Linked DNA regions of Homo sapiens: regions 1, 2 and 3 are each linked to region 4. Evidence: promoter capture Hi-C in human tissues and cell types (Jung and others, 2019). All regions are on one chromosome and are shown on one strand. The core of a region is centred on a gene start or on the middle of the fragment in contact, and the rest is flanking DNA. Distances in the headings are between cores, read along the strand shown.

What was found. Contacts are between HindIII fragments. The study calls those that stand out against the background at their distance.
Region 1: a contact is called between a fragment that was not itself captured here and the fragment with the promoter of NECAB1 in region 4, in 1 of the 25 tissues and cell types used here (pancreas).
Region 2: a fragment that was not itself captured here is called in contact with the fragment with the promoter of NECAB1 in region 4 in 3 of the 25 tissues and cell types used here (H1 embryonic stem cells, dorsolateral prefrontal cortex and hippocampus).
Region 3: a contact is called between a fragment that was not itself captured here and the fragment with the promoter of NECAB1 in region 4, in 1 of the 25 tissues and cell types used here (hippocampus).

Annotation. Positions count from the first base shown.
Region 1 is chr8:90,743,219-90,746,054 of GRCh38, forward strand. All of the region lies in intron 1 of LOC105375633 (a long non-coding RNA gene), which reads right to left. Among named protein-coding and RNA genes, the nearest start is that of NECAB1, 47 kb to the right of the region's middle. The HindIII fragment of the contact is 7,416 bases long and covers 1-2,836 here.
Region 2 is chr8:90,832,324-90,835,119 of GRCh38, forward strand. All of the region lies in intron 3 of NECAB1 (N-terminal EF-hand calcium binding protein 1), which reads left to right. The region is part of intron 1 of LOC105375635 (a long non-coding RNA gene); the gene reads right to left. Among named protein-coding and RNA genes, the nearest start is that of NECAB1, 42 kb to the left of the region's middle. The HindIII fragment of the contact is 3,848 bases long and covers 1-2,796 here.
Region 3 is chr8:90,850,640-90,853,387 of GRCh38, forward strand. All of the region lies in intron 3 of NECAB1 (N-terminal EF-hand calcium binding protein 1), which reads left to right. The region is part of intron 1 of LOC105375635 (a long non-coding RNA gene); the gene reads right to left. The region is part of intron 2 of LOC105375634 (a long non-coding RNA gene); the gene reads right to left. Among named protein-coding and RNA genes, the nearest start is that of NECAB1, 60 kb to the left of the region's middle. RefSeq lists a silencer at 2,388-2,457. The HindIII fragment of the contact is 9,806 bases long and covers 1-2,748 here.
Region 4 is chr8:90,790,524-90,793,294 of GRCh38, forward strand. It overlaps NECAB1 (N-terminal EF-hand calcium binding protein 1), which reads left to right and starts at 1,252. Exons shown (of 13, transcript NM_022351.5): 1 at 1,252-1,462. The coding sequence starts at 1,364. LOC105375633 (a long non-coding RNA gene) reads right to left here and starts at 1,645. Exons shown (of 4, transcript XR_928389.4): 1 at 915-1,645. The HindIII fragment of the contact is 16,269 bases long and covers 1-2,771 here.

The sequences.
Region 1 (2,836 bases), core at 90-2,589, 47 kb before region 4:
CATTCTTTGTCCCTTTCTACTGTTGTTGGTTTAAAATCTATTTTCGGCCAGGCAAGGTGGCTTGTGCCTGTAATCCCCAGCACATTGGGAGGCTGAGGTGAGTGAATCACTTGAGTCCAGGAGTTCAAGACCAGTCTGGGCAGCACAGTTAGATGCTGTCTCTATAAAAATTAGCCAGGCCTGGTGGCATCTGCCTGTAGTCCCAGCTACTCAGGAGGCTGAGGTGGAAGGATCTCTTGAGCTTGGGAGGTTGAGGCCACAGTGAGCCATGATTGTGCCACTGCACTCCAGCCCTGAGAGACACAGCAAGACTCTATCAAAAAACATCTATTTAATCTGATATAAAGATAGTGACACTTGTTTTTTGTTTGTTTGTTTTTTTACTTAAAGTTCCAGGCAGTATACATGTGCAGAATGTGCAGATTTGTTACACAGGTAAACATTTGCCACTGTGATTTGCTGTTCCTATCAACCCATCACCTAGTTATCAACCCCTGCATGCATCAGCCATCTGTACTCATGCTCTCCCTCCCCTTGCCATCCCTGATGGGCCCCAGTGTGTGTTGTTCCCTGTGTCCATGTGTTCTCCTTGTTCAGCTCCCACTAATAAGTGAGAATATGCAGAGTTTGGTTTTCTCTTCCTGTGTTAGTTTGCTGAGGATAATGGCTTCCAGCTTCATCCATGTCCCTGCAAAGGACATGATCTCATTATTTTTTATGGCTGCATAGTATTCCATGGTGTATATGTATCACACTTTCTTTATCCAGTCTATCATTGATGGGCCTTTGAGTTGGTTCCATGTCTTTGCTATTGTGAATAGCACTGCAATAAACATATGTGTGCATGCATCTTTATAATAGAATGACTTATATTCCTTTGGGTATATACCCAGTAGTGGGGTTGCTGGGTCAAATGGTATTTGTGGTGCTAGATCCTTGAGGAACCCCACACCGTCTTCCACAACAGTTGAACTAATTTACATTCCCACCAAAGCATTCCTATTTCTCCACAGCCTTGCCAGCATCTGTTGTTTCTTCACTTTTTGATAATCATCATTCTGACTGGCATGAGATGGTATCTCATTGCGGTTTTGACATGCATTTATCTAATGATCATGATGTTGAGTTTTATTTCAGGCTTTTTGGCTGCATAAGTGTCTTCTTTTGAAAAGTGTCTGTTCATGTCCTTTGCCCACTTTTTGATGGGGTTGTTTGTTTTTTTCTTGTAAATTCGTGTACGTTCATTGTAAATTCTGAATATTAGCCCTTTGTCAGAAGGGTAGATTGCAAAAGTTTTCTTCCATTCTGTAGACTGCCTGTTCACTGATGAGAGTTTCTTTTGATGTGCAAGAACTCTTCAGTTTAATTAGATTCCATTTGTTAATTTTTGTTTTTTGTTACAATTGCTTTTGGCAATTTCATCGTAGAATCTTTGTCCATTCCTGTGTCTTGAACAGTATTGCCTAGATTTTATTCTAGGGTTTTTATGGTTTGGGGTTTTACATTTCAGTGTTTAATCCATATTGAGTTAATTTTTGTATAAGTCATAAGGAAGAGGTCCAGTTTCCATTTTCTGCATATGACTAGCCAGTTTTCCCAGCTCCATTTATTAATAGGGAATCCTTTCCCCATTGCTTGTTTTTGACAGGTTTGTCAAAGATAAGATGGTCATTGATGTGCAGTCTTATTTCTAAGGTCTCTATTCTGTTCCATTGGTCTGTATGTCTGTTTTGGTACCAAACATGCTGTTTTGGTTACTGTAGCCTTGTAATATAGTTTGAAGTCAAGTACCCGGATACCTCCAGCCTCTTTCTTTTTGCTTAGGATTGTCTTGGCTATACAGCCTCTTTTTTGGTACTATAAGAATTTTAAAGTAGTTTTTTCTAATTCTGTGAAGAATGTCAGTGGTAGTTTGATGGGAATAACATTGAATCTATAAATTACTTTGGGCAGTATGACCATTTTCATGATATTGATTCTTCCTATCCATGAGGATGGAATGTTTTTCCATTTTTTGTGCCCTCTTTTATTTCCTTGAGCCGTGGTTTGTAGTTATCCTTGAAGAGGTCCTTCACATCCCTTGTTAGCTATATTCCTAGGTATTTTATTCTCTTTGTAGCATTTGTGAATGGGAATTCTTTCATGATTTAGCTCTCTGCTTGTCTATTATTGGTGTATAGGAATGCTTGTGTCTTTTGCACATTGATTTTGTATCCTGAGACTTTGCTGAAGTTGCTTATCAGCTTAAGGAGCCTTTGGGCTGAGATGATGGGGTTTTCTACATATAGGATCATGTTGTCTGCCAAAAGAGACAATTTGACTTCCTCTCCTCCTATTTGAATACACTTTATTTCTTTCTCTTGCCTTATTGCCCTGGCCAGAACTTTCAATACTACGCTGAATAGGCATGGTGAGAGAGGGCATCCTTGTCTTGTTCTGCATGGAATGCTTCCAGCTTTTGCCCATTTAGTATGATGTTGGCTGTGGGTTTGTCATAAATAGCTCTTATTATTTTGAGATGTGTTCCATCAATAACTAGTTTATTGAGAGTTTTTAACATAAAGGGATGTTAAATTTTATCAAAGGTCTTTTCTGCATTTATTGGGATAATCTTGTGGTTTTTGTCACTGGTTCTGGTTATGTGATGGATTACGTTTATTGATTTGCATACGTTGATCCAGCCTTGCATCCCAGGGCTGAAGCCAACTTGACTGTGGTGGGTAAGCTTTTTGATGTGCTGCTGGATTCAATTTCCCAGTATTTTATTGAGGATTTTTGCACTGATGTTCATCAGGGATATTGACCTGAAGTTTTCTTTTTTTGTTGTGTCTCTGCC
Region 2 (2,796 bases), core at 158-2,657, 42 kb after region 4:
ACTGCATTCTTCCCTGGAGGAAGAGTGCAGAATCAACAAGCCAAATTCTGCCTCATAATTAAAAGATTAGCAAAGTTTGGAGAATTTATAAAGGAGAGAATGTTAAAGGGATTTTTTCAAATGACATGGAAATGGTTTATTCTTAGTTATAATTTTTTGGAAAAAGAAAAACTGGTTCTAATTTTCTCCGACAAAAATGGTAGTCAAGTCAAATTTTGTGTCAAGGCAGTTTCTATATAATTTCTAAAAATATTTAATTTCTAAAGGAAATGCTTAATTTCTAATTGAATAGGAAAATGCATTTATGAAGTGATTATGTACCAGGCAATTAACTTGTATCATCTTATTTAATCTTTAAAAAAACCAAACAAACAAAATAAGAATGTATTGTCATTCATAGCCTACAGTTAAGCAATCTGATACAAAAAGTTAAATAACTTGCCCAAAGTTACATCAATATTATGATTAAGGGTCTGGGGTTTTCTCAGGTCTGCCTGAAAACCAAACCCAAGCTCTTTCCATTGCCATATCATCTCAATAAAATTTCATGTTTTTTGCTTTATATTTCATGTATCAGAAATCAAAATATTCCAAGGCAATTTTTAAAAATCGCTTTCAGTAATTTATCCTTGATAAAAAGATGGTTAATTCTCTCTAACAGTAGAATATATTTGATGTATACTATAGAGGTAATTGCTTTAATTGCTGCCTTTTTCTCTTCTCTTTTTATATCTATTATGTAGGGTTTTTACAGTGTGGGAGTTGCTACAATGTAGAAATGTTATTCTTCTTTTCTGTGGACATTGTTTCCACTCTTTGCACATTTTCCCTCCTTCTATCCTACCTTTATACTTAGAAATCATCATCTACTTTTAGACTTAGTTCCTGCCATCCTCCATCCCATCACTTTGCATTTGCCATATTTTCTCTATTGCTCTTCAGAGTACTCACAGAGTTTTACTGTTTCCTTTAATCGTTTGTATTAAGGGCCTTTTCAAACTTTTTCATATCTTTTTTATATTTTCTTATCTAGAGAATTATTTTTCTGGTTTTCATCTATTCCTCCCAAAAAAAAGCTTAAATTCTTTTTTTTTAATTTTACTTTAAGTTCTGGGATACATGTGCAGAATGTGCAGGTTTGTTACGTAGGTATACATGTGCCACGGTGGTTTGCTACATCTAGCATACATGTGTTTAAATTCTTTTTTAAACTTAATTGAACTCTTTCTTTCCGCCAGCCATGAAAGAGTTGCCATTAGTGAAGTAAAATCAATTACTGCTCAAAATAAAAATTGTCTACTGAGGAAGCTAGATGAATGATTTATTCACATAAATGCAGTTTTTTTCTTAAGTCATCAATATCCACCAGATGGATGAAATCAATGCAGTAAAATTGTAACCCCAATCTCTCTAAAATACATGGTGCTCACTTCGTGGACAGTATTTTTCCTCCATTTCCAATGCCCCAACCAATTCTGTACATTTTTCTCAAGAATGGTCAGTTTAAGAAAACAGTTACAGTTGTTCTCCATGAATTCTTAAGATTTCAGAATTCTCAGCCAGGCGTGGTGGCTCACGCCTGTAATCCCAGTACTTTGGAAGGCTGAGGCAGGTGGATCACTTGAGATCAAGAGTTCGAGACCAGCCTGGCCAACATGGTGAAACCCCACCTCTATTAAAAATACAAAAATTAGCTAGGCATGGTGGCGCATGCCTGTAATCCCAGCTACTTGGGAGGCTAAGGTATGAGAATTGATTGAACCCAGCAGGTGGCGGTTGCAGTGAGCTGAGACTGTGCACCACTGTACTCCAGCCTAAGAGACAGAGTGAAACTGTGTCTCAAAAAAAAAAAAAAAAAAAAAAAAGATTTCAGAATTTTAGAAATAAATGTAGATTACAAATAACCAAAAAGTCACTGCTTACTTTTGAAGTGCAGGTTTTTTCAAGAGCAATTTTTTAAGGAAAATATTTCCCCCACTGCTATGGTCTGAATGTATGTGTTTCTTGGAAATTTATATGTTGAAACTTAATATCCACAGTGATAGTATTAAAAGAGAGGGCCTTTGGCAAATGACTAGGTCATAAGGATTCCACCCTCATGAATGGGATGAGTGCCCTTTTATAAAAGAGCCCTGAAGGAGCTTGTGTGTCCCTTCCACTTATGTAAGGATACATAGAAAGTGCCATCGATGAGTAACAAGCCCTCATTAAACACCAAATCTGTTGGTGTCTTAATCTTCGACTTAGCCTCCAGAACTGTGAGCAATAAATTTCTGTTGCTTATAAATTACCCAGTCTGAAGTATTTGTTAGAGAAGCCCAAAAGGACTAAGACACTCACAAACCAAATAATATAAACAGTACATAATTATTGTAAAAAGAGTTGAAAATATAGAAAATTAGAAGAAAGAGCATAAAATATCTGAAACCTCACAATCTTGAGATAATCACCAATAGCATTTGGTTACCATAGCTTTTATGTATGCATTCTATTTTAATCATGGAAAACTCTTGCTTTTAGATTTCTTTTCCTTTTCTACCCTCTATCCTTATACTATCCCCCATAACCAATCTTTATCACCTAAATTGGTCTTGTGTATTTTTTCCATGTTTATGTAATCATATACACATCTATATGTCTCATGAAAGCTTTCCCTGACTTTCTTTTTTTTTTTTTTAAAAAAGAGCCCGCATCGACTTTCTTTATTAGTTTAAAATTTCTATTCTGCATTCTCATTGTAACATGGACTGCTCTTTACAGCCCCTATATTATTTACAATTTTATATTTATTAGGGT
Region 3 (2,748 bases), core at 108-2,607, 60 kb after region 4:
ACTGGATTAGTCACTAGGAAAACTAGGGGTTTGGTGCTTTGTCTATATATCTTCTTACTGGGGTTCAAGCCTCTTTGTTTCCATTGAAATTATTACATTTCATATGATATTGTGATATAATTAAAATATATAGTTGATCTTTGTCCCTGGTTTCTGGCATAGAGCTTCTAAATGCCTTGGAATTTCCTGAGTGTTAGGGATGAGAGGAACATCTTTTGTTATTTATGGTAAGCCCCTTTCAACCATACCTGAGTTTATGCTAATAAGGTGAGTCTTGAAGGATGGGGGCTGGTTTGCCAGAGGAACCAACCAAGTGATTAGAGGATCGGAACTTTCAGCCCAAACTCTCAACCTCCAGGGAGGATAGAGGGGCTAGAGATTGACTCAGTCACCAAGGGTCAATGATTTACTCAACTGCCTATATAATGAGGCCTCCATGAAAACACTAAATGATGGGGTTAAGACAGCATCCAGGTTTGTGAACACATGCAGGTTCTGGGAAAGTGGTATACCCGAAGAGGGCATGGAAGCTCCATGCACCACTGCCCTCAATACCTTGTCTTGGGCATCTATTCCATTTGGCTGTTCCTGGGTTGTATCCTTTATAATAAACCAGTAATAGTAAGTAAAGTGTTTTCCTGAGTTCTGTGAATCATTCTAGCAAATTATCAAACCTGAGGAGGGAGTGCGGGATCCTCCGGACAGGACAGAAGTTGTGGGAAACCTGAGGACACTCTACCAGCAATTGGCATCTGCAGTGGGCTAGGGGCAGACTTGTGGACGAAGCCTATAACCTGTGGAGTTTGCCTAAACTCCCAGTATTAAGGATCATAATTGAATTGTAGGACACTCAATTGATATCCAGACTGTTGGAGAATTGCTTGATGTAAGGAAAAACCCCATACATTTGGTGTCATAAGTATTTTGTGGGTATAGAAAAAAAAGGGGGCATCTTTTATTTCCATTTTTAAATAGATTTTAGTTTTTAGAGCAGGTTTAGGTTCACAGCAAAATGGAGTGAAAGATACAGAGATTTCCCATATACCCCCTGCATCCACATATGCACATCCTGCCCCATTATTAACATCCCCATCAGAGAGTACTTTTGTCACAACTGATGAACTTACATTGACACATCATTATCTCCCCAAATCCAAAGTTTACATTAGAGCTTACTCTTCATGTTGTACACTCTATGGGTTTAGACAAATTTATAATAACATGTACCCATAATTAGAGTATCATAAAGAGTAATTTCACTGCCCTAAGTTCGTCTGTGGTCCACCTGTGCATCCCTCCCCACCCCCAACCCCATTTTGTTTTTAAGTGTTTCTTTACTTCCCCAGTACACAGGCTCCAATGTCACCTTCACTAAAATGAGTTAAAATGAATCAATATAATTTTGTTGTTGTTATTTTTAATTTTATTTAGAAAGTGGGTATTGTTTTTGAAGAGATGCATCAGTAGAAGCCTCTCCTCGATATGCTGCATGCTCACTCATTGGGATAAATACCTGATTTCACATTATATGAATGTCCATTAAGAAGGGTGCAAGCTAACATCTGCAGAATTCCTACTTTGTACAAAGTACTGTTCTAAACATTCTATACTGTCACCTCCTTTAAAATTACCACCACTCATCGAGGCCCTGAAAAGTTCAGTAACTTGCCCATTATCACATCACTTGTAAAGGATGGATCAGGGATCACACCAGGACATCATAGCTTCAAGGTTTGTATTTCTCCATCATAATATTTTGTACATACACACTGGTTGTACCAGTGATAGGGACAGGAGGCAGAGTAATTCTAGGCAGAAGAGGCAGGTCCCTGACAAAACCCCACCCTCAAGCCAAAGGCCTGAAACTGTGGCCCAAAATGAGAACCTACATCCTTGTTTTCCCATTCAAATGTTGCCTTTTCCTAAACCACCCATGGCCCACCCTGCCCTCCATCCTCTGCCTGTAAAGACCCCAGACTCAGCCAGCAGAGAGGAGAAGCGGTGGGATGTTGGGCTGGATATCAGAGAGAAGTGGCTTGACTTCAGAGGGACAGCTTGACAGTGTAACTTTGGAGAAGAATCTGGCCAAAGACAGTCAGACTTTGGGGAAAGATTATGTGTCTGCCCTGTCTCCTTTTCAACTCCCCTTCCCACTGAGAGCCACTTTCATCAGCAATAAAATCCCGTTCATTTACCATCCTTCAATTCATTCGTGCAACCTCATTTTTCCTGAACACTGGACAAGAGCTTGAGAGCCACAAGTGTGGATGCAAAAGGCTATCACACTGGCCCTTTGCCCTCGCTGATGGAGGGCAGCCACCTCATGCGAAAAGGCAGAGGACCCACTGAGCTGTTAACACTTAAGCTGTCCTTGGATGCCAGAGCTAAAAGAGCACTGTAACACACATTCTGGGGCTTCAGGGGTCAAAGGCAGCCCCCTTGAGGCTGCCATGGGGCCTGCATGGAGTTTGCTTCTGCTGGTGCGCAAAGCACTTGCCCTGGCTCCTGTAACCGCTCACCTGCATGCTGCCTCCTGTGAGGGGTGGAGTGCAGCGGGTCTGAGTGAGTGGAGGTAACTCCTGCCAGTGCAGAAGCAGCCAGCTGGTTCCAGCACTCGTGGACTCCAGTTCCTGCCTCTTTCTCTCACATGCTCTCTCCCACAAGGAGTTGAAAGCTGCGGGCTGGGTAAATGAGGCAACACTGCAGTGAGTCCCATGAATGGGACAGGAAAATGTCCTGCTTCAGCAG
Region 4 (2,771 bases), core at 2-2,501:
GAAGTGTTTTCCTTCTATTTCTATCAAGCATGGAGTATCCACTGATTTTTAAGGTCCATTTCATATACCGCTTCTTTCATCAAGCTTTTATTGGTCCCCCCAGCCAGAGTGTAACCTGTCTCTCCTGAGAAACCCCTAGCATGTTTTACATGCCTTTAAGACACTCACATGTTGATCAGCATTTTGGTTGTGTGTGGGCCTGTCTTATAGGAAGAATATGTTTACTTTTCTCCAAAGGCCACAAAATGGAGATCTGGATCCTCCTCACCCGTTCTCACTGGTAGAGGCAGAGTCTTGTTTAGACAAGGTTCCCTCTTTTTTGCCTTATCTCGCTCCCAGATAGCTCAAGTTTGTAACCAACACATACACATTTTAGATGCCCAATAAACTGGATCTCTCTCCTGATGAAAGGTGTGGTCAGTTTCCTATTTTTACAGCCTTCGCAGAAGCCGTCAAATATTGAATAATTACCCTGGTTTAAATGCTTAAACACAGATAAGGACTTCGTCTTGTGACTTTGGGAAACTTCATATTTGAACATTACCTAACAATCCTTGCCCCATAGCAAACGTTTCGAAGCCTACTCTAGGCAGAGTTCATAGCACCGCCTTTGTCAGCAGCACTGCCATAGGTAAGCCTCAGAACCCTCTGGGGTGAGACCGGTGTAACCATTTTACTGATGAGGAAAAGTGAGGCTTACAGGTTAAGTCCTTCGAGCGCAAGATAACACCGAATGGCTTAATCCCTACACCAAACCAGCTGCTCCTCGATTGCTGGTATTCGTGAACCCTGCCCCCGCCTTTGGGGAAGGTCGGGCAGACAGGCCACTGGGACCAAAAGCAGAGTAGGTAGAACCTCTCTGAGTTCCTCCCTATTTATGGCATCCACTCAGGTGAGGCTGGGGGCGTCCTTACCTTGCGCTTTGGCTGCTCAGGACAAACGCCCTGCCATTCGTCCCTTCTCTCTGTCCGGACGCCCTCCTCCATCCCTGCACTTGGGGCCGTCGTGGGGCTGGTAGGGGTCCCCAGGCTATCTCCAGCCGTGGCCGATGGCCGTGCCGGGGGCAGAGCCCGCTCCCCTCCGCGCGTTGCTACGTGCGGGGATGACATGGATCCAGACGCCGTCAACTACGGGAAGGAGGAGGCGAGAGTTGGAGCGCGTGGGAGCGCAGAGGCCGGAGGAGGGAGGGGGGGACACCGAGCGCGGAGAGCGCGGAGAGCGCGGAGGGAGGCGCGCGCGGGAGCGAACACCCTCCCGGATCCAGAGCCCGGCGGCGGCGAAGCAGCAGCTGCGGCCGCGCCCTTGCCAGAGCCGGTGCGTCCGCCTAGCCCCGCTCCGCCTGAGGCCGTCAGGGCTCCCGAGGATGGAAGATTCCCAGGAGACATCGCCGTCCTCCAACAACTCCTCGGAGGAGCTCAGCTCTGCTCTGCACCTGTCCAAGGGCATGTCGATCTTCCTCGACGTAAGTACAGATGGTGGGAGCTGGGCGGTTGCTTCCCAGCACCTTTCTTTTCCCCGAAAGGAAGGGGTTCGGCTCAGGTGCTGACCAGCCAATGCTTTGTCCCCAGAACACAGGCGAGAACTACCGATGCAAATGCAGGAGGAACGACTGTCCCTTAACTTGCAGCTAGGGCTGTCCCAGACCTGCAGCTTGTGGCTTAACACCCTTAAGAAAACTGCAAAAGTTAGATTTTCCAACAGGCTGGGTTTCGTAGAGACACTATTGCAAATACAACAGACAACATTTGAGTGCATAGGACATTTTAAAGAGGCACAAGGTGTGGGGGGTGAGGTGGGGACAGTGTCCCAACTCATCTCTCTAACGCGCCCTATTCGCAGCCTTCACACTCGTGGATGCTCTCAAGCAACCCAGCCAGGGAAGCAGCAGCGATTGAGATGCCCTCGTTATCCTCCCCCAGACCCCCTCGGAAAACAATTACTTTGAGCATATTTGTTTTTCTTTTTACAGCGGTGGGAAATATCATTTTCATAATGATTCTTTTTGTCACTGCCACCTCTTCTATTTTCCCTTTTTCTTCCCTGATATTCTCCTTCTCTCCAAGTTCTAATTACTACTGTCACCTCCATGAATTCTAGCTTTTGACTATTTTCCCTTTGGTCCAATTTCTCACTTCGGTATCGACTGCCTGCCTTCATTACTCTGATCTGATTACATCCTTTCTTTTCCTTCTGTGCTGTTTCTTTTTCCCGTATGGTGTGGTTTCTATCTTTACAGCACTTTTATTTCTTATTTATTTCTCAATTTTGTTTTCCTCTCCTGCCTGCTGTTTCTGTTTTCTCTATTTTTCCGTCTGTTGCCTATCTCTTCTCTCTGCTTTGGGGTTTCTCTCAGCTGCTTGCCGGGCTCCAGGCTCTCCCAGCCCCTCAGTTGTCACATTCATGCTGTTGCCGGAGGTCGTGTCTATCTCAGTGGGGACAATTCTGTCTGCTTCTTGTTTAGGCATGATAGAAAATGTCAAAGGACATGGAGGAGTGCTACGTGCTCTGTCCTTTACCCTTCTCTGAGTTATCTTTTCTTATTAAAGTCAAAATGAGTGGGAGATGGGCCAGAAGCCAGATACATTTGTTTGTGGAGAGATGAAAATATGAGGAAATCAATTAGTATCATAATGGTGAGGCAGAGATAAAGAGGATAGGAGGATGTGAGGCGCTCTCCCAAGTTTATTTTGAATGGATTGGCTAGAATTCTTTTTAATTCTAGGGAAAGAAACTCCTATCAATAATTCAAACTGTTGTAAGGCAAATGATAG